Regions from separate parts of the Homo sapiens genome. Here all the other regions are linked to region 1. Evidence: promoter capture Hi-C in human tissues and cell types (Jung and others, 2019). All regions are on one chromosome and are shown on one strand. Each heading gives the region's core, a stretch centred on a gene start or on the middle of the fragment in contact. The rest is flanking DNA. Distances are from core to core; before and after follow the strand shown.

The links. The method cuts DNA at HindIII sites, captures the fragments that hold promoters and counts their contacts. A contact is called where the count stands out against the background at its distance.
Region 2: a fragment that was not itself captured here is called in contact with the fragment with the promoter of MYBL2 in region 1 in 1 of the 25 tissues and cell types used here (spleen).
Region 3: the fragment with the promoter of SERINC3 here is called in contact with the fragment with the promoter of MYBL2 in region 1 in 1 of the 25 tissues and cell types used here (aorta).
Region 4: the fragment with the promoter of R3HDML here is called in contact with the fragment with the promoter of MYBL2 in region 1 in 1 of the 25 tissues and cell types used here (pancreas).

The regions. Positions count from the first base shown.
Region 1 is chr20:43,662,060-43,668,363 of GRCh38, reverse strand. MYBL2 (MYB proto-oncogene like 2) reads right to left here and starts at 1,250. Exons shown (of 14, transcript NM_002466.4): 1 at 1,061-1,250. The coding sequence starts at 1,080. RefSeq lists enhancers at 345-394, 1,161-1,455 and silencers at 1,045-1,424, 1,161-1,455. The HindIII fragment of the contact is 5,433 bases long and covers 1-4,334 here.
Region 2 is chr20:44,636,432-44,642,251 of GRCh38, reverse strand. The region is part of intron 1 of ADA (adenosine deaminase); the gene reads left to right. Among named protein-coding and RNA genes, the nearest start is that of ADA, 12 kb to the left of the region's middle. RefSeq lists enhancers at 5,578-5,820, 251-5,820. The HindIII fragment of the contact is 5,650 bases long and covers 1-5,158 here.
Region 3 is chr20:44,518,176-44,524,479 of GRCh38, reverse strand. SERINC3 (serine incorporator 3) reads left to right here and starts at 2,410. Exons shown (of 10, transcript NM_006811.4): 1 at 2,410-2,567. The coding sequence starts at 2,529. RefSeq lists enhancers at 1-185, 2,218-2,512, 2,419-2,728, 2,647-3,199. The HindIII fragment of the contact is 6,058 bases long and covers 1,756-6,304 here.
Region 4 is chr20:44,334,740-44,341,043 of GRCh38, reverse strand. It overlaps R3HDML (R3H domain containing like), which reads right to left and starts at 4,001. Exons shown (of 5, transcript NM_178491.4): 1 at 3,626-4,001. The coding sequence starts at 3,886. RefSeq lists an enhancer at 4,330-5,319. The HindIII fragment of the contact is 19,264 bases long and covers 1-6,304 here.

The sequences.
Region 1 (6,304 bases), core at 1-2,500:
CCCGACGTGGTGACACGTGCCTGAAGTCCCAGCTACTCGGGAAGCTGAGGCAGGAGAATCGCTTGAACCTGGGAGGCGGAGGTTGCAGTGAGCCAAGATCGCGCCACTGCACTCCAGCCTGGGCATCAGAGCGAGACTCCTTCTCAAAAAAAAAAAAAAAAAAAAAAAAGAGGGAACGAAGGTTATCTGAGCTGCAGCGATCCAGGCAGGGAAGAGGTCAGGACCCCACTGTCCTGTCTCCCAGGCAGGCTGAAAAGCTTGGAGCTCAGGCCCCAGGCGCACAGGTGTAAGACAGGGATCTGGAGCCACAGACCTGGCTCCGGGCTCAGCTCTGCCACTTAAGTCTCTGGGGAAATAAGTAAAATGGAGACCGCAGTTCCTGCCTTTGCCCCAGGGACTCTCTCTCTCCCCCGCACCTTCAACCCCAGCTGCCCAAAACTCCTCGTGGGAACAGGAAGAGAGGTCTCAAACCGAACCAAGCTGGGGCGCGGAACCCAGGTGGGAGAGACAAAAGAGCCCCCAACTCAGCACCCTTCTCAGTCCAGGGGAGAGGGCTTGGGGGACTCTGTGCTCCCCGGAATGTTAAGGAGCAAAGCCCACCCACCAAGTTGACCCAAAACTAGGCTGCAACAAGTGCCTCCCAGGCTCGGTCTCCCACTGGCTGGGACTTGAAGACTCCCTCTCGCTCCCAGGGGTCGCCTCCCTCGCCGGCGAAGGCCCTGCCAGCTGACACCGGCCGGCCCACCCCCATCCCGCAATTAGGCGGGAGACAAAATGACATCATGCACGGCTTGGCCCGGGTCCCAAGAGACCCGCCCGTCCCAGCTCCGAGGCCCAACAGGCCTGGGGAGCCGCGAGGGACGCCCAAGAGCCCCCCAGCTTTACGCGCGCCCCTGCCTCAGAGGGCCCAGGACGCAGCATTTCCGCGGAAACACCCCACCCCCAACACACACACACACCCCAGCTTGGTGGGAGCCTGGGGAGGGTCGGGGGTATCTGGGTGGGGGAGGGGTGAGTTAAAGGGAGGGGGAGGGGCCCAAGCCCTCCCGGCTCGTCTCACCAGCGCGTCCGCCGAGACATCCCCCCGGCCCGGACCGCGCCGCGCTCGCCCGCCCGCCGGCAGAGCCCGGAGCGGGAGCCGGGCCGGGGTCAGGACCCGGGCTGCTCCGGCCGCTCCGGGCCCCGGGCCGCGCTCGAAGGCGTCAGCGTGTCAGCAGGTCCCGCGCTCCTCGCTCGCAGGAACTGCAGTCGCCGCCGGCGCGGGTTGAAGCACTTTTCTATCTCCCGCCAAGCGCGTCGGCGCCGCCCAGTCCTGGCGCGCGGGCGCCGGGGGAGGGGCCTGAGTGAGGGGCGGAGCCAGGGGGCGGGGCGGGGCGGGGCCTGCGGGGCGGCACCTGCCCAGACCCTCCAGGGCCGGCTGCAGGACAGGGGCGGCGGCCGCTACTTCGGAGTTGTGGAGCGGGCCGGGATGTGACCGAGGCCTGGCTCACGTGTCAGTCCGGGGCGGCCCAGGAGTATCCCACATAGCGAAGACCGAGGAAGGGGAGCGAGGCGCGAGCATGGGAGAGCCAGCCAGGGAAAGCGCCAGGGCGGAATCCCCCACGCTAGTCCAAGCCACTACTGGGTCCCTAGAGCCGCACCCTAAAGCGGCTCCTCACCCTACCTGTGCCTCTCCCTGCTTCCTCTCCTGCCTCCAAGAGACCCTCCTTAATAGACTTTATTTTTTGTTGTTCATTTTTCTTAGAGGCAGGGTCTTGCTCTGTCGCCCAGGCTGGAGTGCAGTTTCGCGATCATAGCTCACTGCAACCTCCACCTCCTAGGCTCAAGCGATCCTCCTACCTCAACTCACGGGTAGCTAAGACCAGGCACTCGCCACTACACCCGGCTGATTTTTTTTTTTTTTTTTTTTGAGACGGTGTCTCGCTTTGTCGCCAGGCTGGAGTGCAGTGGCGCGATCTTGACTCACTGCAACCTCCACCTCCCGGGTTCAAGCGACTCCCCCGCCTCAGCCTCCCAAGTAGCTGGAACTACAGGCGCACACCACCACGCCCGGCAATTTTTTTTTTTTTTTTTTTTTTTTTTTAGTATTTTAGTAGAGACGAGGTTTCACCATGTTGGCCAGGATGGTATAGGTCTCCTGACCTCGTGATCCGCCCGCCTCGGCCTCCCAAAGTGCTGGAATTACAGGAGTGAGCCACTGCGCTTTTTTTTTTTTTTTTAAGAGAAGGGGGTGTCTTGCTATGTTGCTGTTGCCTAGACTGGTCTAGAAACTCCTGGGCTCAAGAGATCCTGCCGCTTTGTCCTCCCAAAGTGCTGGGATTGCAGGCGTGAGCTCTTTCCAGAATTTAAAACCATCCTCCTCTCCCTCAGGGTAAATTCCTTACTCCACAATCACATTTATCTGATCTTCCAGACCACCACCCAGCCCTGGCCAAAAGAAACGGCCTCTTTGCCTTTGCCTGAGCCATTACCCAGGGCAGGAACACTTCCTGCCCCTCCCACGTGGCTGATTCCTATTTAATTTGGGGTCCACTGCCCACAATCTGCCTGTAGACTTCTGCATTTCCCCCTTTGAACTGGGAGCATCCTGAGGTCCAGGTGGCCTCTCAATGCACACCAGTATCTCCAGGGCCCAGTAGAAGACCTGACATAAGAAGCCCCAGGCAAAGGTTTGTTGCATTGAATTGTTTACCTTGGGTTTAAACTCCCAGAGATTAGCCCAGATTTAGTGGCTCATGCCAGTAATCCTAGCAGTTTGGGAGGCCGAGGTGGGAGAACTGATTCAGTCCAAAAGTTTGAGACCAGCCTGGGGATCAGAGTGAGACCCTGTCTTTACAAAAAATTAAGAAATTACCTGGCTGTGGTGGTGAATGCCTGTAATCCCAGCTACTTGGGAAGCAGAGGCAGGAGGATTGCTTGAGCCCAGGAGTTCGAGGGGCTCAAGCCCTTGTCATCCCGCCACTGCACTCCAGCCTGGGCGACAGACAGTGAGACTGTCTTTCCTTGAGATTTAGCAAAGGTTTTCTATATTAGATTGACATTTACCAAGTACCAAGGATCAAGTCACACTGGACTTCCTGGGAGCAGTGCTGAGAGGAAGATAAATGAGCTCTGAGACAGGACGCTGAAGAAACCAAATCAAACCCCAGCCTTTTAGCCCCTGTTCAGGCCTCAGAGCCCCCTTCCAGAAGCTGCTGGCCACCTGGGGACAGTCCAGCCACCAGCTGCTGCAAACTTCACTTACCACAGAAGGAAGACTAACTCACATCTTAAGTGCTAGAAGCTTCCACATCACTTAATTCAGGGTTTCTCCCGCCCACTCCCCTTATAAAGTAATTAATGTGGACATGCCCACTTCATTGAAAGCACAGCCTCCACAGCCAAACTTCCTGGGGTTTGAGTCCCAGCTCCACCATTCAGTTGCGGTATCTTAGGCAAATTACTTAACTTTTTTTTTTTTTTTAGACCAAGTCTTGCTTTATTGCCCAGACTGGAGTGCAGTGGTGTGATCTTGGCTCACTGCAACCCCCACTTCCCGGATTCAAATGATTCTCCCACCTCAGCCTCTCGAGTAGCTAGGACTACAGGAATGCGCCAGCATGCCTGGCTATTTTTTGTATTTTTGTAGAGATGGGTTTTCATCATGTTGGCCAGGCTGGTCTTGAACTTCTGACCTCAGGTGATCTACCCGACTCAGACTCCCAAAGTGCTGGGATTACAGGCATGAGCCATCATGCCCAGCCAATTACCTAACTCTTCTGTGCCTCAGTTTTCTCACCTGGAAAAATGGGATTTATCAAAATTTTAGATAGTTTTTAAACTATCAGCCTCCCAAGTAACTGGGGTTACAGGAGCACGCCGCCATGCCCAGCTAATATTTCCAGCCAGCATTCTGTTTATAAATTGTAACTCATTTAATCCTTGTAACAACTCTATGAGGTAGATACTGGGATTATCCTCTTTTAGCAGATGGGAAAACTGAGGCACAGACTTCCCCAAGGTCACAGTGCTAGTAAATGGCAGAGCAGGGATTCAAACCTGGCCTGTCTAGTTCTAGAGTCTATGCTCTTAATCACTATACTTTGTAGGTAATTATAGGATTAAATAAATTAATATGTGTAAAGCACCAAAAACAGTTCCTGGCACATAATGAGAGCTATATTGGCCGGGCACAGTGGCTCATGCCTGTAATCCCAGCAGTTTGGGAAGCTGAGGCGAGTGAGTCACCTAAGGTCAGGAGTTTGAGACCAGCTTGGCCAACATGGTGAAACCCCATCTCTACTAAAAATATAAAATATTAGCCGGGCGTGGCGGCATGCACCTGTAACTCCAGCTACTCAGGAGGCTGAGGCAGGAGAATCACTTGAACCTGGAGGCGGAGGTTGCAGTGAGCTGAGATCGTGCCACTGCACTCCAGCCTTGGCAACAGAGCAAGACTCCGTCTCAATAACCCCAGCCTCCCGAGTAGCTGGGGTTACAGAAGCACTCCGCCACGCCTGGCTAATTTTTTGTATTTTAATAGAGATCGGGGTTTCACCATGTTCCCCAGGCTGGTCTCAAACTCCTGATCTCAGGCAATCCACCCACCTCGGCCTCCCAAAGTGCTAGGATTACAGGCGTGAGCCACCGCGCCCAGCAAAAAAAGAACTATATTACTGTTAGCTATTATTACTACTGTAATTCTTCAGCTGCCCTCACTCTTATCCTTTGAGGTCCACACATTAGTCATCCCATTTCAGGGAGAGGCAGGACCTGACAGCTTGGGCAAGGTATCTGCCCAAAGCAAGAGGCAGGGAACAGCTGCAGAGTGCACTTGCAACCTGGAACTGGGGCCAGTTAACCAATGCCCCAGAGCCAAAGAAGCCTGGAGTCAGTGCTGTGAGTCAGGCAGCAGGGAGATCACCCTAGTGCCAGATGGAATCTGATGATCTCCACACATTTCCTCTCCAGTTATCATCATACCAACAGATATCCCCTGGAGAGAGGATTCCCAGTGTCCCGAGTGAAACCACACCTGGGAGTGGTCCCTGGACTCTGGACTAGTAACATACAGAATTTATCTCTGCTGGGAAACTTTTCCTGAACACGCCCTCCTTGGACAGGGAGGCTCCAGGTATTTGGTTATTCCACAATTTGCCCCAACCCCCAGGCCTGACCCTGTGTTGGGAAGATAAGGGTCAAATCAATTTATTAAATGCTCAGGGCTCAGCACCAGCTTGGACACCAAACACTAATTGATGATAAGTAGAATCACATGGCCCTTCTGGCTGGAGTCTTCCCCCTCCACCTCCAGAGCATCCTCCTTATCATTCTTGTCCTCATCACACTTCCTCCACCATTTTATTTCTCTCTCAAGAGAAAGGACAGCCTGTGCACATTTTAAGCTTCAGACCTTTACTATAGCTTGGCTTCTGGTAGGTACTCATGGAAGGGGTTCTACACATTCCATTTAAATTGAGTGGATGCAATGTTACAAAGCTAACATTTGGGCTGGAGAGTTAGAAAGGCTTGGACCTCAAGTGAGAAAGCTGGGAATGCTAGAGTTTGAATTGTATCTCATAAAATATGGGTCATCAAAAGAGATTCAGGCTGGGCACAGTGGTCATGCCCGTAATCCCAGCACTTTAGAAGGCCAAGGCAGGCAAATTACTTTGAGGTCAGGACTTTGAGACCAGCCTGGCCAACATGGTGAAACCCCATATCTACTAAAAATACAAAAATTACCTGGGCATGGTGGCACAAACCTGCAGTCTCAGCTACTCAGGAGGATGAGGCATGAGAATCACTTGAACCCAGGAGGAGGAGGTTGCCGTGAGCCCAAACTGTGCCACTGCACTCCAGCCTGGGTGACAGAGCAAGACTCTGTCTCAAAAAGAGATTTGGGACCAGGTGCAGTGACTCATACCTGTAATAATCCCAGCACTTTGGGAGGGCAAGGTGGAAGGATTGTGTAAAGCCAGGAGTTCGAGACCAGCCTGGGCAACATAGTGAGACCCCCCGCCCCCGTCTGTACAAAAAAATTTGTTAAATCAAAACCTAAATACCAAGTCTCCTTAAACTATTACATACACCTGTTGGCTGGGTTCAGTGGCTCACATGTAATCCTGTAATCCCAACACTTTGGGAGGCCAAGGTGAAAGGATAGTTTGAGGCTAGGAGTTCAGGACCAGCCTGGATAACACAGCTAGATCTCGTTTCTACTAAAAATGAGAGAGAGAGATTTTGAAACAAAGGGATGTTTTTCAGACTCTTCTGTCCCACTCCAGGGCATCAGTGTAGAGAACAGAGACATGGTAGCAAACAA
Region 2 (5,820 bases), core at 1,084-3,583, 970 kb before region 1:
AGAGACCCAGGTTGACCTCATACTGCTTGTCCCTCCAGGGCCTCCAGTGAGGTTTCGGCTCCTTGGATCACTCAGGGCCCCAGGCAGATGGGAAGATTCCACTCTGAACATTGCCAATTGTTGTGCCAGAGTAAAGCAGAGCTGGGAGGTGGGCTCTTGAATTGGCATTTAAATACTTTTGCCAGGCAGGGTAAGGCAGCTCACGCCTGTAATCATAACACTTTGGGAGGCCTAGGTGGGTGGATCACCTGAGGTCAGGAGTTCAAAACCAGCCTGGCCAACATGGTGAAACCCTGTCTCTACTAAAAGTACAAAAATTAGCCGGGCATGGTGGTGGGCGCCTGTAATCCCAGCTACTTGGGAGGCTGAGGCACGAGAATCCCTTGAACCTGGGAGGCAGAGGCTGCAATGAGCTGAGATCTTGCCACTGCACTCCAGCCTGGGCAACAGAGCCAGACTCCATCTCAAAAAAAAAAAAACAACAACAACAAATAAATAAATGAATAAATACTTTAGCCAGAAGTAGCCATGCAGACCTCCCCCCACCAGTCCCACCCACAAGCGGACGTGACTACCGCCCCCATTCACTGCCTGATCCTCCTGTTCTCAGGGGCTCCAAGGCCAGGCCTGGTTTGACCTTCTGACTTTCTGACTTCCTCCTACCTTCCCAGTAACCTCATGCAACTCCTTTCACTCAGCCTCAATCATCCCCATGGGTGTTTAAACTTGCCCAAGACATGCCCCTTTGAAAAAGCCTGCCATTCTCTTGACCCACATGCACGTCCTGCCCCCTCCAAGGCTGCTAGTTCCTTTAGGGGCAAAATTGTGAAAGAGTAGTCTAAACCTTCTTCCTCTTCTTACCTCCACTTCTTTCTTACCTTATTCCCATGTGGATTCTACCCTCACTCAGGCCTCTAGAACGGTTCCTCTACGGCAGTGGTTCCCAATCTTGACTACGTGTTTTTTTAAAAAAAGTCCTCCACCTGGGCCTGCCACCAAGGATTTTTCTTTAATTGACCTCAGATGGGGTTGAGGCCTTGGGAACTGGCCAGAACTTCCCGTGCTCCTAACTTGCAGCCGGGGTTAAGAACTACTCCTCTGAAGCCCCCAGTGCCTGCGCTTTTAGCCCGACGGACAAGTTTCTGCCCTTCCATCCTGTGACCTCCAGCAGGGCCTGACCATGTGAGTTTTCTGTGGCTGCCGTGACAAGTTGCCACACCCTGCATGGCTTCAACCAACAGAAACGTGTGCCCTGGCAGTTCTGGGGGCCAGAAGTCCAACATCAAGATATCATCAGAGCCACATGCCCACTGAAGGCTCTCGGGGGAATCCATTCCTTGCCTCTTCTGGTTGCTGGTGGCTCTAGGCATTCCTTGGCTTGTGGCTGCATCATTCCAGTCTCTGCCTCTGAGGTCACGTTGCTGCTTCCTCTTGTGTGTGTTTCTCTTAAAACTCTCTGCTTCTGTCTTATAAGGATACATGTGATTGCATCTAGGGCCCAACCAGATAATCCAGGATAAACTCTTCCTGTCAAGACATTTAATAATCACACTTTGCCATATAAGGTAATTTTTTTTTTTTTTTTGAGGTGGAGTTTTGCACTTTCACCCAGGCTGGAGTAAAGTGATTTAATCTCGGCTCACTGGAATCTCTGCCCCCAGGTTCAAGCAATTCTCCTGCCTCAGCCTCCTGAGTAGCTGGGATTATAGGTACCTGCCACCATGCCCAGCTAACTTTTGTATTTTTAGTAGACATGGGGTTTCACCATGTTGGCCAGGCTGGTCTCGAACTCCTGACCTCAGGTGATCCACCCGCCATAAGTTAATATTTTTTTTTTGAGAGGGAGTATTGCTCTGTTGCCCAGGCTGGAGTGCTAGTGGCTCAATCTCGGCTCACTGCAACCTCCGCCTCCCAGGTTCAAATGATTCTCCTACCTCAGTCTCCTGAGTAGCTGGGACTACAGGTGCATGCCACCATGCCTGGCTGATTTTTGTATTTTTAATAGAGAGGGGATTTCACCATGTTGGCCAGGCTGGTGTTGAACTCCTAACCTCAAGTGATCCACCCACCTCAGCCTCCCAAAGTGTTGGGATTACAGGCATGAACCACCACGCCCGACCCATATAAGGTAATATTTACAGGTTCTGGGGATTAGGATTAGCATGTAGACAGCTTTGTGGGGGCCACCATTCAGCCCACTATGCTAACCCTGTGAACCGTTGCTCGCTTCTCCTTGACATCTGACGGCCTGGCCTTCTGCATACCACACACCCTCCCACCTCTCTGGCCACAGTTCTGTAGGCTCAGCCTCCTCCGTAAGGCCATTAAGTGCTTGTGCTGGTCAAAGTTTCATCCTAGGCCTTTTCCTTACCTCCCTTGATATTTTCTCCCTAGGTGAGCTCCTTCAAGCCCACAGCTTCTGTGCTTACCCACACTCCTACCTACATTCCCAGCTTGGGCTTCTCAGGCCAGCTCTAGACTCTTGTATCCCACTGGGTTCTTCCACTTACCTTTGGATATCTCAAAGGCATCTCCAGTTGGCTGGGCACGATGGTTCACACCTGTAACCCCAGCACTTTGGGAGGCCGAGGTGGGCAGATCACTTGAGGTCAGGAGTTCAAGACCAGCCTGGCCAATATGGTGAAACCCCATCTCTACTAAAAATACAAAAATTAGCTGGGCATGGTGGTGGGTGCCTGTAGTCCCAACTACTCGGGAGGCTGAGGCAGGAGAATCGCTTGAACCCGGGAGGTGGAGGTTTCCGTGAGCTGAGCTGGAGCCACTGCACTCCAGCCTGGGCAACAGAGTGAAACTCCGTCTTAAAAAAACAAAAAACAAAAGGTGTCTCTAGTGTAACATAACTAAAACCAAACCAATCATGCCTCCCTCCCCCGCATCCTCCCTCCTGGAGGGAGCTCCAGGACTTGGTCTTCTCTTCCAGAGTTCTCTGTCTCAAACTGCGGGAATTGCTCCCCACCCAGGCCTAACCTGAAGTGTGAGCCTTGGCATCTCTTTCTATCCACCTGTTTTTCCTCTATGCACCTCACAACCCTGGTCCAAGCCACCGTCATCTTTCAAATGGCTGCAGTAGCCTCTAACTGGCCTTGGAGGAGCCATCCTCTTTCTCTAACCAGCTGCCAACCCTGCAATGGCCTCTGTGTGCTTTCCAGATAAAGCCTGACTCCTCGTGGCCCGCACAGCCCTGCCTGGGTGGTCCTATCCTGCAGCCTCTCCAGTACCATGAACCCTCCCTTCTCTGAACCTCTATTTAATCCATTTCATATACCCCGTTTTCTCCTGCCATAGGGCCTTGCACATGCTGTTCCTTCTGCCTGGAATTTTCTTCCTGCCTCCCTCCGCACCCCTGCCTTGTGTTGTGGGTTCCTCGCTATCCTCTAGCTTTTCGCTCAGGCTCATTGTTGGCCCTCTAGATGTATTCACTTCTCTTGTTTGTTACCCTCTGTCATAGGACTGTGTTCGTACTTCCCAAGGAGTCGTCTTGGTTTGTGACTGTACATTTTCCCATGTGACATTTGCTTAATGCCTCTCCCACTCTGGGGCCTGTACAAGCCCCAGGAACAGGACTTGGACCCTCCTGTTTAACTCTACAATCTAGCATCCAGCAGGAGCGCAGGCCTTCGTTGACTTTTATTTTATTCTTATTTTTTATTTTTGAGATGCAGTTTCGCTCTTGTCGCCCAGGCTGGAGTGCAGTGGCGTAATCTCGGCTCACTGCAGCCTCTGCCTCCCAGGTTCAGGTGATTCTCCTGTCTCAGCCTCCCAAGTAGCTGGGATTACAGGTGTGCGCCACCACGCCTGGCTAATTTTTTGCATTTTTAGTAGAGATGGGGTTTCACCATGTTGGCCAGGCTGGTCTCAAACTCCTGGCCTCAGGTGATCCACCCACCTCGGCCTCCCAAAGTGGCTGGATTACAGGCGTGAGCCCCCATGCCCAGCCTTCATTGACTTTTAGTTGACAACTATTTAGCATTTGCTATGTGCCAAGAACTCCCTGCCTACTAATGCAGTTAACCCTCATGAAGCCTAGAAGGAAGGACTGCCATTCTCCCCACTTAACAGATGAGGATGCCGAGGCACAGGAAGTGAAGTGACTTTCTCAGGGTCAAGCAGGGAGTGAGTGGAGGAGCCGAGATTCCAGCTCTAACCGCATGATGCTCTATACAGTGTGACTCCGGCTCTCTGGCTGGGCCCTCTCCATAGCCCTGTGAGGGTTAAGGATAGAAAACAGAGGCTCAGAGAGTTGAGGTCCCTTGCCTGAGGTCACACAGCTGGTTGGCCGTTCCCTGGGCTATAAGCTTCAGTATTCCCAATGCTGAGCATATTTTGAGAACCCGAGAAACAGACGTTTGGCTGGGTGGGAACTGAACTCATTTTGTCAGGGAATTCAACAACTAAGTTGGCCCTGAGACTGGGTGTGAAGACCGCTCTGTCCCCTGCCAGCTGGATGACCTCAGGAGAGATCTGATGACTCTGAGGTCCTGCTGATAGGACCTCTGGTGTCTCTGTTCCCTGCTGGCCTCCCCTGGGCCTGGGTTGGGTTTCCTCTGCAGGAGGCAGCTCATGTATGTGCTCCTAGACGCCCTTGGGCCAGCAGCTCCTTGGCTGTTCCTCCCTGAGCCAGGGCAGCCAACTTTCTTATCCAGCTCTCCATGCTCCCCACCCCAGCATGAGATGTCAGCTGAGAGTTTTCTGGATCTCCCCTAGCTAGGGGGAAAGCTTCCATCATTTGGAACAGGAACAGCAGGAACAGCAAAGTCCCTTTCCCCACCATCTCCCACTGCCTGCTGTGCTTCTCCTAACAGCTCATGGTAAACACCCTGACTGAGCGGCAGGGGCTGTTTCCTTTGGGCTATCCATGTCCACCTACACTGCCCTTTTTAATCCTTACAATTTTTCTTGGACACGGGGGCATAATATTCCATTGTTTTTCAGTTGAGGAAACTGAGGCTCAGAGAGGTCAAGTGTCTTGTCTGAGGTCACACAGCAGAACTGGGAGTCAAGCCAGATGGGCTGCCTCCAAGGATCCTACTCTTAAACTCTAGAGTACTAGAAAGATCTTCCGTTGCCTAATATTGATTCCTGATAGGCTATGCTTGAGTAGCATCTGCTTTTGAAAATGGAGCCTGGGTCGGTTGCGGTGGCACATACCTGTAATCCCAGCACTTTGGGAGGCTGAGGTGGGTGGACACCTGAGGTCAGGAGTTCGAGACTAGCCTGAGCAACATGGTGAAACCCTGTCTCTACTAAAAATACAAAAATTAACTGGGCGTGGTGGCACCTGCCTATAGTCCCAGCTACTCCGGAGGCTGAGGCACAAGAATTGCTTGAACCCAGGAGGTGGAGGTTGCAGTGAGAGGAGATCATGTCACTGCACTCCAGCCTGGGAGACAGAGCGAGACTCCATCCGTCTCAAAAAAAAGAAAACGAAAATGGATCCTGAATTTTGAAATATGCTGTGACTCTTCCCTAGTTTGGGACATCTGGGTCAATCCCTTTTGTTAAAGTAGTTTATTTAGTTGGCTGAGAGCGGGAGCTGCCTACGTGACCTGGAGCACAAGCTTTGGAATTGGGCTTGGGTTAGAATTCCGCCTCTGCCACTCACCAGCTGCGATTAAGAACAAAGATACTGGGTTGGGCTCCTGCCTCTATTACTTGCAATCTGTGTGGCCTTGGATGAGATATTTAACACCTCCGAACCTCAGTGTCCTCAATTGTGAAAGAGATCGAGATAACAGCTGAACCCACATCCCAGGAGCGGATTAAATGAGATAGTGCAGTACAGAGTTTACCGAAGTATAT
Region 3 (6,304 bases), core at 1,161-3,660, 850 kb before region 1:
GAACAAAAACAGTGATCACAGAATATAAACAAAGATCAGACAAGACCACCATGTAGTTGGATCAAGATACAGACAAAGCCACTCTGGTACCGCAGATAGGACTCAACATCTTCCAATTCTGACTAATAAATGAGTGGATTTTGCTTCTTTTTTTGTAACCGAGCGAATTATAGAGAAACGCCACACTCTGAGACGAATTCAGGAGTCCTTTATTAGCCGGCAACTGAGAGATGGCTAGTGCTTAAAATTCTCTCGGCCCCGAAGAAGGGGCTAGATTTTCTTTTATACTTTGGTTTAGAAAGGGGAGGGGGAGCCTAGCTGAGGCAATCTTACAGAAGTAAAACAGGCAAAAAAGTTAAAAAGACAAATGGTTACAGGAAAACAAATAGTTCCAGGTGCAGGGGCTTTAAATCCATCACAAGGTGATAGATGTGGGGGCTTTGGGTACCATCAACCGGACAAAAATGCAGGGGCTTAGGGTACTATCAACCGGGTGAATTCCTGGAAACTGCAGCTATCGCTTGCCACAGTATCTTATCAGTTAATTGCATTCTTTGATGTGCTGGGAGTCAGCTTGCACAAGTTAAATCCTTGAGGAAGTGGGATGGGTAAGGAGCGGCAAGTGAAGGAGCCAAAATGGAGTTTGTCTGTCTCCCTCAGCTAAGAGAGAGTCAATTCAGGTTAAGACAAGGTAGGGTATCACACTTTTCCAAGGACTAATCTAGCCTTGTTTTAATCCTTCTTCCTTCTGGATAAAAATTTGTAAGATACCTAATCACTGAATTGCCTCTACTCCTTGACTGTGTCCAATCCAAAACTGTTCTCCTCCTCCTTAAACTCTCCTTAGATTTAGTTACCCAGCATAAACCCAAATCCTAAAATAAGTTCTCCCCAGTCACCTCTTACCAAGACACCTTATATTTTCTCTGATATGTGTTCTCCCTTTCTGAACAAGCTAAATAAACCTAATTCTTTTTGACTACAGGTATGTTTCTGGTAGAATTCGATCTGTAAAATTTATCACAGTCAGCTCTCTTAAGTCCAGACCAGCAATACTCAGACAGGAAGAAGCAAGAATGTTAAGGACTACCTGGAAAGTTCAGTGGTCCTGAAGCAACTTGACTTGAGCTGGTATTTGTGTATGTGTGGTGAGGAGAGGGATCTGGGAAAAGAGAGGTAGGAATTATTAAATGTGAGTAGTTCTCTTTCTTCTTTCATCAGCCCTTTTCATGGCCTTGGGCAAACTTTGAGCCTCATTCCATTTCTGTAAAAGATGAATTTGGAATACATTTTCAAGGAATCCAGGAAATAACATCCCCAAATATGCCACACTGGTATGATGATTGCTTGGGGAACAGCACATGGAGAGAGGGGCTTTTCATGAATTTCCCTTATCAGACTAAAGGCTGACAATCCAGAAGGAATTCAATTATGAATCCCCTTCCAGAGAGTTTTATCTATCAGGGAAGATTAACACACCACAGGAGAAGATATTGAAGTGTGACACCTTGTTGTCCGGACATCATCATTGTTTGCCACATTCCACCTAAACTATTATATGTGTAAGTAAAAAATGTTTTCATTTTCTTCTTTAAGTGAACTCTCAAATTTGACATGTATTTTGAAAGGAATATTTACATCACTGCTTAAATGGGAAATCAGCATTGCTCGGAAGAAATGAAAAGGTTATTGCTAACACACACCTCAAAACAAAACAATATTTTAAAACTGCAGGCATGGTTGCCTGTTTGAGAGATCTGGAAAATGAAGGCTTTACTCTGTTAGAAAGGGAGATAAATACTAGAAAAATGTTAAATACCATACTGGCCTCAAACAACTAGCCTGTTGGTTTGAAATGGGACGTTCTCACTCTGCTGTTTAATATCGCTTAATGTCCTTCATGCACCCTTAGAGCCATTCATTTTTCCCAAATGGGGTGCATCCCACATTTTAGGATACGATTTCCATCGTTTCTAGGTTAATTTGGACTCATCCTTTAGTTCGCAGATTAAAAAATAAATCCTTCAGAGAAGCCTTCCAAGACTACTGCCCAGCTAAATTACTTTCCCCTTACAATAGGAGGCACTAAATACACCTTTATTGAAAGCCTATTCCCCCATACTACTTCATCGTATTCATTACATTGGGGCACGGTGCATTTATGTTGTCAGATCTCCTATTAACTAGAGAATAAATTCTGAGCGTACTGTGCCTCTCTGTACACTTCTGTAACTTCCAGATCTTTGCACAATGAATACAAATGATGTAAGGAATGACACCTTCACAGTTCCTGCAACCCCAGGATGGTTTAGCCCCACCTTCCCCCTCAGCCAATGACAGGCGCCCCCCTCTGCCGCTCCGGTCGCGGACGGTGGGCGGGGCCACGCCGTGACGCATCCGTGCGTCTGTGGAAGGCTGCGTTTCCGGCCTGAGAAACCGTCATGTTTCTGGGGAGTCACCTCAGCTGGCAGTTACCACCGTGTTAGAAAGCAGCCTCAGGACCGGCCACCTCCATCACTGGCGTCACCATGGGGGCTGTGCTGGGTGTCTTCTCCCTCGCCAGCTGGGTGAGTTCGGGGTCCCGAGTCCTCGCCGGACCTGCGGTTTGCGGGGAAAGGCCTCGAGACCAGAGCTGCACGGGCCTTGGCTCCAGAGGCTCTCGGGATGTCAGCAGGCCCTGGGCTACAGAGGGTCTCCGGGGCCCCAGACGCAAATCCGCGATACCCTCAGGTCCAGCTTAGGCGGCTCGCCCTCCGGGTTCCTCGGGGAACGGAAGAGGCTAGGCCGCCATTGTTTACAATTCGGATGGCTCCGCCCTGCGAGGCTTCCTGACTAGGTTCCTCTGGAGCTGGAGAGGGACCAAGGAATGACAGCTCCCAGCGAGGGGCTCCGGTTCCTCCCGAAGCACCTCTTAAGGTGCCATCATTTAGTTCTAGGTGGCTCAAGTAATATTTTTATCCCCTAGCACGGGATTTGCCAAAACTACAGAGTGTGTGGCAAAGCTGGGGTTTTAGCGGAGGCTTGTCTGCAGTTCAGGTGCAAGGGAAAGAAGCCCTTGTGGATTGTTATTCAAAATTGGAAACCAGGGCCTGAATATTTTGGGACTGCTGTAAGTCATTTATCCGAGGATAATCACCCCAGCATTCCTCTCTTCGAGAACGATTGTGACAGTGAAGTGAAGGTTTAATCACCTTGTAAACTGTAAACATTTTAAAGAGAAAATTATAGGGCCTATAAAAGAATATGCTGAGTTCCCTCATTTACCCACTTCAGAGGAGCGTGATTCCTTGATTCCTCATTCTCCAGCTGATTTAATTGACCAAGTGTGTAGAAAAAGCACACTCAGTTTCTCCTGCTGTACTCACAACACACTTTTGACACCTGATGTGTGGTGTGTGGGGATTTTCCCCCAAACATCAGGCAAACAGTCAGCTCTGCAGGGGATGCCAACTTGGTGCCCTACAAGTCAATTCCGAAGCTCTCTACTTGGAGATAGCATCAAATCACACAAGTGGAGGGCTCAGTCTCACAAGACTGTGCCCACTTTCTGTGCCAATGGCAAGCCTCAGGTTGTTTTACCTGTGCTTCTGACCGGCCACCTATAAATCAAAGTTCCCGTGACCTCCCTCCTTGGCTTTGATTAATTTGGTCACAAAACTCAAGGAAACATGTTTACTGGTTTATTATAAAAGTATTTTATTTTGTGTATTTATGTATTTTTAATTTTAGATTCAGAGGGTACATATGCAGTTTTGTTACATGGGTATATTGCCTTATCGTGAGGTTTGGGTTTCTAATGATTCCGTTGCCCAAACAGTGAACACAGTATCCAACAGGTAGTTTTTCAACCCCTATCCCCCCACCGTCCTTCCCCACTCTTGGACTCTCCAGTGTTTATTGTTGCCATCTTCGTGTCTGTGTTCCCAGTGTTTAGCTCCCACTTGTAAGCGAGAATATGCTGTATTTGGTTTTCTGTTTCTGTATTAATTCACTTGGGATAGTGGCCTCCAGCTGCATCTTTGTTGCTGCAAAGGACATGATTTTCTTCTTTTTTTATGGCTACTATTAATATATTTTTAAAGATACAGATGAAGTGATATGTAAGACAAGGTGTAGAGGGAACGGGTCTGGAGCTTCCATGCTCTGTCTGGGGCAGTGGCGCCATCTCGGCTCTCTTCAACCTCCAAGGGATTCTCATGTTTCAGCCTCCCGGAGTAGCTGGGATTATAGTGTATGCCACCACGCCCAGCTAATTTTTGTATTTTCAATAAAGACGGGATTTCGCCATGTTGGCCAGGCTGGTCTCGAACTCCTGGGGTGTGAGCCACCATGCCCAGCCAAAAGTTCTTCTGAACTTTGTCCTTCTGAGCTTTTATGCAGGCTTCATTATGTAGTCAGCATTCATTAAATCATTGGCTTTTGGTTACTGACCTAACCTTCAGCCCCTCCTTGGAGGGTCAGGGGTGAGACTGAAAAGTCCCAACCTCCTACTATGACCCTCACCCATCATGAAGCCACCTAGGGGCTGCCAGTCACCAGTCATCTCATTAGCATACAAAAAGACGCTGGTTATTCCAAGGATTTTAGAAATTGTATGCCAGGAAATGGGAACCAAACATACATATATTTGACAGTATTACACCAAGGATTCTGTTTCAGCTCTTTCTACTATTTTTCTTTTTTTTTTTTGGAGGGGGACAGAGTTTTGCTCTGTCACCCAGGCTGGAGTGCAGTGGCTCAGTCATAGCTCACTGCAGCCTTGAACTCCTGGATTCAAGTGATCCTCCCACCTCAGCCTTCCCAGTACAGGTGTGTGACACCATGCCTGGCTTCATTCCACTATTTCTTAGGAACAGAATGTATTTTAAGGTTGTTGGTCCTAAATCAAAAGAGTGTTCCATTTTTAAGGGCTTTCTTGAGAGCAGTGGTTTTCTAATTATTCTGACCTTGACCTAAAGAAAGATTGTACATAGTTGATCTGTGATCTGATGCACCCATATAGAGACAAAGTTTTATGAAATAATCGTTTACTGTACAATTTTTCTTTTATCTTCTATCACATTAGAAAATCCTGGTGAGTTGAAGGCCAGGCATGGTGGCTCACGCCAGGATGGTCTCAATCTCCTGACCTCGTGATCCGCCGGCCTCCCAGAGTGCTTGGATTACAGGTGTGAGCCACCGCGTCTTGCCCGGCTTTTACTCTTAAGTTATATGGGAATCTATTACAGAGTTTGAAAAAAGGAGTGATGTGATCTGGGCCTGTGTTTTAACGAGGTGGTTTCTGGTTGCTGTGTGGAGAATAGATGGTAGAAAAGTAAAGGTAAAGCAGTGTAGGCTGGGAAGAATCTTCCTCCAGCCTTTTGGGTTCTGTTTCTGGGGGCTTGTGAATTAAACTGACAAAACAGATTATTTAGAGTTTATGCATGCAAGACATGTACACACAGGAGTGCTCAGTAATAGTAACTCAAAGGGGGCGGTTAGAACTTGAGGCTTTTTTTTTTTTTTTCGTTTTTGAGAAAACAAGTTCCACTCTTGTTGCCCAGGCTGGAGTGCAATGGTGGGATCTTGGCTCACTGCAATCTCCACCTCCCAGGTTCAAGCGATTCTCCTGCCTCAGCCTCCCAAGTAGCTGGGATTACAGGCATGTGCCACCACGCCTGGCTAATTTTGTATTTTTAGTAGAGATGGGGTTTCTCCATGTTGGTCAGGCCGGTCTTGAACTCCCGACCTCAGGTGATCTGCCCACCTCAGCTTCCCAAAGTGCTGGGATTACAGGTGTGAGCCACTGCACCCAGCCAAGGCTTTCTAATTTAGTAGGAAAAAGGAAGCTGGGAGAAAGGCTTCTATGAGAAGAACAAATAGGTTTCTTTAGGAAAGACAAGTTTTTTTAGGAGAATAAATAGGAAATACGTTTGTGGTAGTACTTGTTTATGCAGGTATGGTGGGTCTTTCCAGCTTCTTCATGATCTTAAAACTGCCCTGGAGAGGGACTTTATGGCAGCCTCGTTTCCCAGAAGTTGCTGCTTTTAGTCAGATAAGAGAAGCTCCCAGAAGGCTTTTTTTTTTCCTCTGCATCTGTTGAAGCTCAGATGCTTCAGCTTAAAAGCTTAAAATAATCTTTATAACAATTCAGGGCTTCTTTTTTTTTTTTTTTTTTTTTTGAGGCTAATTTTGCATTTTTAGTAGAGACAGGATTTCACTGTGTTGGCCTGGCGGGTCTTGAACTCCTGACCTCAGGTGATCTGCCTGCCTTGGCTTCCCAAAGTGCTGGGATTACAGGCGTGAGCCACTGTGCCGGCCAACT
Region 4 (6,304 bases), core at 2,752-5,251, 670 kb before region 1:
GCTCGCTGATGACTTGAAGGGCAACCATGAGTCCATACCAGAGCTGGGGTCCACACCCAGATCTCTTGACTCTGAGCTTGGGCTCTGCTCTGAGCAGGTCCCAGGGTGTTCGTACAGGAGTTCTCAGCAGTCCCTAGAAGTGACTGAACCCAGAAGGATGAGAAAATAACTAATTCTTAAATTGTACTTATAGTATTTTCTTTTTCTTTCTTTCTTTTTTTCTTTTCTTTTCTTTTTTGAGACAGGATCTCACTCTGTCACCCAAGCTGGAGTGCAGTGGTGCGATCGCAGCTCACTGCAACCTCTGCCTCCTGGTACAGTGGGAGGTGGTGAGGTGAGAGGCGATCCTCCCACCTCAGCCTCCTGAGTAGCTGGGACTGCAGGCGCATGCCACCACACCTGGCTAATTTTTGTAGAGACAGGGTTTTGCCATGTTGCCCAGGCTAGTCTCCAACTCCTGGCCTCAAACAATTCACCTGCCTCAGCATCCCAAAGTGCTGGGATTACAGGGCACTTCGGGAGGCTGAAGCAGGTGGATCGCACCCGGCCTTGTAGTATTTTCTAAATGTGTTTATTTTAACATTGAAAATGGTTAAGTCAAAAGCTTTTTTAAATCGTGAAAATATGCATAATTTTAATATGTAAGATATCCGCTTGGGCACAGTGGTTCACGCCTGTAATCTCAGCACTTTTGGGAGGCTGAGGCAGGCAGATCACTTGAGGTCAGGAGTTCGAGACCATCCTGGCCAACATGGAGAAACCCCCTCTCTACTAAAAATACAAAAATTAGGCCAGGCATGGTGGCTCACATCTGTAATCCCAGCACTTTGGGAGGCCGAGGTGGGCGGATCACCTGAGGTCAGGAGGTCGAGACTAACCTGGCCAACATGGTGAAACCCTGTCTCTACTAAAAATATAAAAATTAGCCGGGTGTGGTGGCGGGCACCTATAATCCCAGCTATTCGGGAGGCTGAGGCAGGAGAATCGCTTGAACCTGGGAGACCGAGGTTGCAGTGAGCTGAGTCCATATCATTGTACTCCATCCTGGGCAACAACAGTGAAACTCTGTCTTCAAAAATAATAATGATAATACAAAAATTAGTCAGGCATGGTGGTGTGTACCTGTGGTCCCAGCTACTTGGGAGGCTGAGGCACGAGAATTGCTTGAACTCAGGAGGCAGAGGTTGTAGTGAGCCGAGATCGTGCCACTGCACTCCAGCTTGGGCAACAGAGGGAGATTCCGTGTCAACAACAACAAAAATAGATAACCAAGGAGGAACAGTAGAAAGTCTCATCTCTCTCCTATACTTCTCCCCCAACCCCACCACCCTGCACACCGTCCCAAGAGGCAGTCACCACTGCTTCTTGTGTCCTCTGTATACAGGTATATATTCTATACCTGTACAAGCAGCTCTCTATATATACACACACACACAGACACACACACACACACACACACACACATATATATAGGCAAATGGCAGCATATTCTATTCTGCACCTTGCTCTTTTGTCTTAGTGATTATTCCCCATCACTACATGGTGAATGCCCTCCTCATCCTCCTTAACAGTTTTGTAATTTTCCAATGTATGAATTCTCCAAGTTTTATAACCAGAAAATATGTCATTAAAATACTAGTTCCCTTCCATCTCTGACTTCCTGGGATTCTCTGAAATAGGATTTGTTCATTCATCAAATATCAAACAACATCTCTAGGCACTGAGGACTCAGGGTAGCAAGGCAACAAGGCCTTCAACAAGTCATTGATTATTACAGTCCTGGTCGGTGTGAGAGTGAGAAATGGGAGCCAAACTTTCTTGCGGCAGTGAGAGAAGGGCTGCTAGGGCAAAGGCTGTCGAGTTGGACAGCCTGTTCTGTGAGTAGAAGTCAGCTAGGGAGGGAGAAATGGGGCATCCAAAGAGGGGTCCAGGTATCTACCAGGGTTGTCTGGCCCAATATTTTTTTTTTTTTTTTTTTTTTAGATAGAGTTTCACTCTTGTCATCCAGGCTGGCTGGATCTCGGCTCACTGCAACCTCGGCCTCCCAGGTTCAAGCGATTCTCCTGCCTCCACCTCTCAAGTAGCTTGGGATTACAGGCGCTCATCACCACACCCAGCTAATTTTTGTATTTTTAGTACAGACTGGGTTTCACCATGTTGGCCAGGCTGGTCTGGAACTCCTGACCTCAGGTGATTCACCCACCTCGGCCTCCCAAAGTGCTGGGATTACTGGCGTGAGCCACTGCGCCCGGCTCTCTGGCTCAGTCTTTTAGGGAGAGCAGAGGAGTGCTTCCCTCATGCTACAAAGGGGTAAAGTGAGGGAAGGAGCAGGCTAAACATCAAACCTACATGTTCAGGCCCTCCCTGGAGTCCCTGGTGAGATATTGAACCCTCTCTGCTCCATGCCGCCTGCAATCATTAAACACCTGTTGGGGCAGGTGCCACACACGCACAACGGGTGCTCAATAAATGTGCCATTTGTTTGAAAAATGGAGGGCATTCTAGGTGCTAACGAATGAATGAACAAGTCAATGACTCCCCTGCACTCTAGCTGCCTGCCATCCCGGCTCTTATTCCCGCCCCTCCCAACACTGTATTGCCTCCTCACGTTATCTTATGTACATTAATATCTTGTTGTTCATGCTTGTTTTCTCTTATTCCCACTAAAATGTCACCTTCGTGAAGGAAGGGGCCTTGTCTATTCTGTTACCAGCAGTATCCACAAGGCTTAGCACGGTGCCTGGCTGCAAGTGTACTCCAAGTATAAGTCAATGGATACGATGAAAAAGTTAAGTTTTCAGGCTATCGAGTGGCATGTGTTGGTCTTTCAGGGGGCAGACTGGCAAACTCTTTCCCTAAAGACATCTCTGGGTGGGCTGGAAACCCATCCCTCTAGGCTGGTTTTGGACAGTGGCCCTGGGGGAGGAGCTGTAAGCAAAAGGTTGGTGCCCTCCTTTGACTTCTTGGGGGCTGGAGTGAGAGCCACCAGCCCTGCCTCTTTGAGGGGAGACATCCCAGCTTCCTCTGCTGGTCAGCTGTTGGTTTTCCTCAGCCTGAGATTCCCCAGTACCTGTCCCCACTGCTCCAAGCCTGCCTCCAGGGGCTTGTGGAGGATGCTGTGGGTGTGTCAGTCAAGACCTTAGGGTAAAGAGACAATAGCATAGAAAGCACCAGCCACGCACCCCATGCAGGTCCCCAGTGTGGGGAGCCAAAATTCTTGGGTAGGGGATTGTGATGGTTACAGTTGTGATGGTGCCAGGTGGCAGCAGGCAGACCTGGATTGAAATCCTGGCTGGGCAAATTAATTCTCTGAGTCTCAGTTTCTTCCTCTGGAAAATGGAGATGATACTCACGTGCAGTGCCTGGCGCACAGTGGTGCTCCTTACATAGTAGTCACATGCCTGACTCACTGGAACAGCTGTGCAACCTTCTTGGTTTCCTCATCTGTAAAATGGGCAGATTAACTCCTGCCCTTTCCACAGGTCGACACCCAGATACTGGCTAGTGGGGCCAGGCAGGCAAGTGGTCCAGCTCTTCAAAGCCAGTCATTCTAGGCCAAGATGAGTCCGGCTGCGTTTGCCGGAAGGGACACTGCGGGGGGTGGGGGGCAGGTACGGGGACTCACCATGTATTCCATGTTGGCGGCAGGTGGGTACACACTGGCCCGGATGTGGTTGTGATAATCCAGTAAGGCATTCATGTCTCTCACAGAGATGTGGCGCTTCCGGCGGTACCTGGGCACCTCCAGGCCACTCAGGAGCCGCATAGCCGTGCTCTCGGGCTGGGCCGGGGCTGGGGTAGCATTAGGCATTATCAAGGCGTTCACTGCCTGGCCAGCCCAGAAGAGCAGGCCTGCCAGGCCCACGGTGCTGGGCAGCAGGGGCATAGCTGGATGGAGGAGTCACAGGTCTGCCTTGTGCAATCAGAGCCGGCTGCCTGGAAGGGGCAGGCACGAGAGCACCAGACCCTGAGCGTTCTCCAACAGTGCCGACCCAGAGGATGCTGCCTCCTGGGAACTTGGCAAAGACCTCCAGATGCAGCTCTGGTCCAGATGCCCAGCACCCCTTCCTTTCCACCCCAGGGGACTGAGTGGGTTGGGCAAGGGGAAGAAATGCCCAGACAGTGGCTAATCCAGACATGGCCCTGGGGTGAGATGGTGCCACCACTTCAAAGCCAGTGCTCTGTCCCTCCAGCCCAGGAGACAGACAGCAGCCCTCTCCAGTCTAGACATCCTCTTCACCAATCCTGCTGGAGCGGGCTCAGTCAATGCCCTCGGAGGGCAGGGCCCACCTTACCCCAAGTCATATTGCAAGGTCCTTTTGTCCCTGCTTTGCTGCAATTTAGGAATTGAGAATGAGACACAGAGAAAACCCAATGGCAGAGAATGAAAGAGGCAGAGAAAAAAGAGAGACCAAAAAGGGGACAGAAAAAAAGAGTTACAGAGAAAAAAGAATGAGAAATAGAAAGGTAAAGAGATAAGAGAGAATGAGAGAGAGGCAACAATGTGGCTGGGGGAGGACAGAAATAGACAGAGAGAGGGGCACAAACAGAAGAAAGAGCGAAAAATCGACTTAGAGAAGAGACAGAGAAGCACGAGAGACCAGGCAGGAGGCTCCAACGGTGCGTACCCAGGACGGGCAGCCCAAGCGGTGGCAGGCGGCAGCCCAGGAGGCCGGGGACCTCTGCAGACACCCTGGCCCACCTGGCGGCGCAGCAACTTTAACGGTCCCCTGGTGCTGTTGGCATCTGACGTCCCTGGCCCCACAGCCCCCTCCCCTTCCAGCCAGGCCAGACTCCTGCAGGGAGGCTCCGCCTGCTGCTTGATGGGCTTTTCTCTCCCGCCCCTCTCTCTCTGCTTTCACCTGAAGCATGTAGGGCTGGGCTGGGCAAATGGTCAGGGTAGTGATGTGGCAACAGGGCAGGGATTCCAGGAAAAAATACTCATCCCCTATGGGAGATCCCAGACCCCGAGGCTTCTCTCTGCCTTCCACATCCTGACATATTAAGGCCACCTTGCATCTGGAGAGTATTTTCTGACTGTTTTCCCTATAACACCCTCCAGCCTTGGAGCAGACAGTTAATATGGCCCATCTAGTGAGCCCCTGCTATGTGCCAGGCCCAGGGCTGAGTGCTTTACACAAAAGCCCAGCCAACCTTCAGAAGCAGGTACTATAGCTCCCCATTTCATAGATGAGGAAACTGAGCCCCAGAGAGGAGAAAGAACAAGCCCAAAGTCAAGCCAGCCAGTCTGCAATCACGCCAGGATTTAAGTCCAGATCTGACCCCAGGCCTGGTTAGTATCTAAAAGGATGCCTTTTCCTTTTCCTTTCCTTTTTTTTTTCTTTCTGTTTTTTGTCTCACTTTGTCGCCCAGGCTGGAGTGCAGTGGCGCAATCTCGGCTCACTGCAACCTCGATTCTCCTGCCTCAGCCTCCTAAGTAGCTGGGGCTACAGGTGCACACCACCACACCTGGCTAATTTTTGTATTTTTTAGTAGGGATGGGGTTTCACCATATTGGACAGGCTGTCTTTCTTTTTTTTTCTTTTGAGACAGAGTCTCGCTCTGTCGTCCAGGCTGGAGTGCAGTGGCACAATCTCGGCTCACTGCAACCTCCACCTCCCAGGCTCAGGTGATCCTCCCATCTCAGCCTCCTGAATAGCTGGGGCCACGGGCACGCACCACCATACTTGGCTAATTTTTTTGTATCAGCCAAAGATGCCATTTTCTAACCAAACCAAATATAGATGCATAAGGAAAAAAGCCTAGGGTGATGTTCGTTATGATGCCACTCAAACACAGCCTATTCATTAGCAAATGAATTAAGCCCACAAATCTGGGTTCAAATTTCCCTTATCCCACCCCCTCACTAACTAGGTGTTGGGCACGTTACTCAACCATTGTGTGCCTCATCTGTAAAATGGGAGAAATAGCGGTGCCTACCTTGTAGCATTACTGCGAAGATGAAATGAGTGAACATTTGTGGAGCCTTAGTACAGTGGCTGGCACACTGTGTGCACTCTAGGAATGTGTGTGTGAATGTGTTTGTGTGTACGTGTGTACTTGTGAGAGTATGTATGCACTTGTGTATGTGTGTGCAAGTATACTTACATGTGTGTGTGTTTGAGTGTTCTTGAGTCAAATGTGTCCCCAGGTGAATGTATGAGTATGTAGATAATGGACGTGTGTGCGTGTGTGTGTGTGTGTGTGTGTGTGTTTAAAGTCTCAGTCTCTGAGTTGCTGAAGTCCTAGGTTAAGAAAGAGTTCAATTTTCTCCTCTTTCATTACTTGTATTCCCCAAAAATAA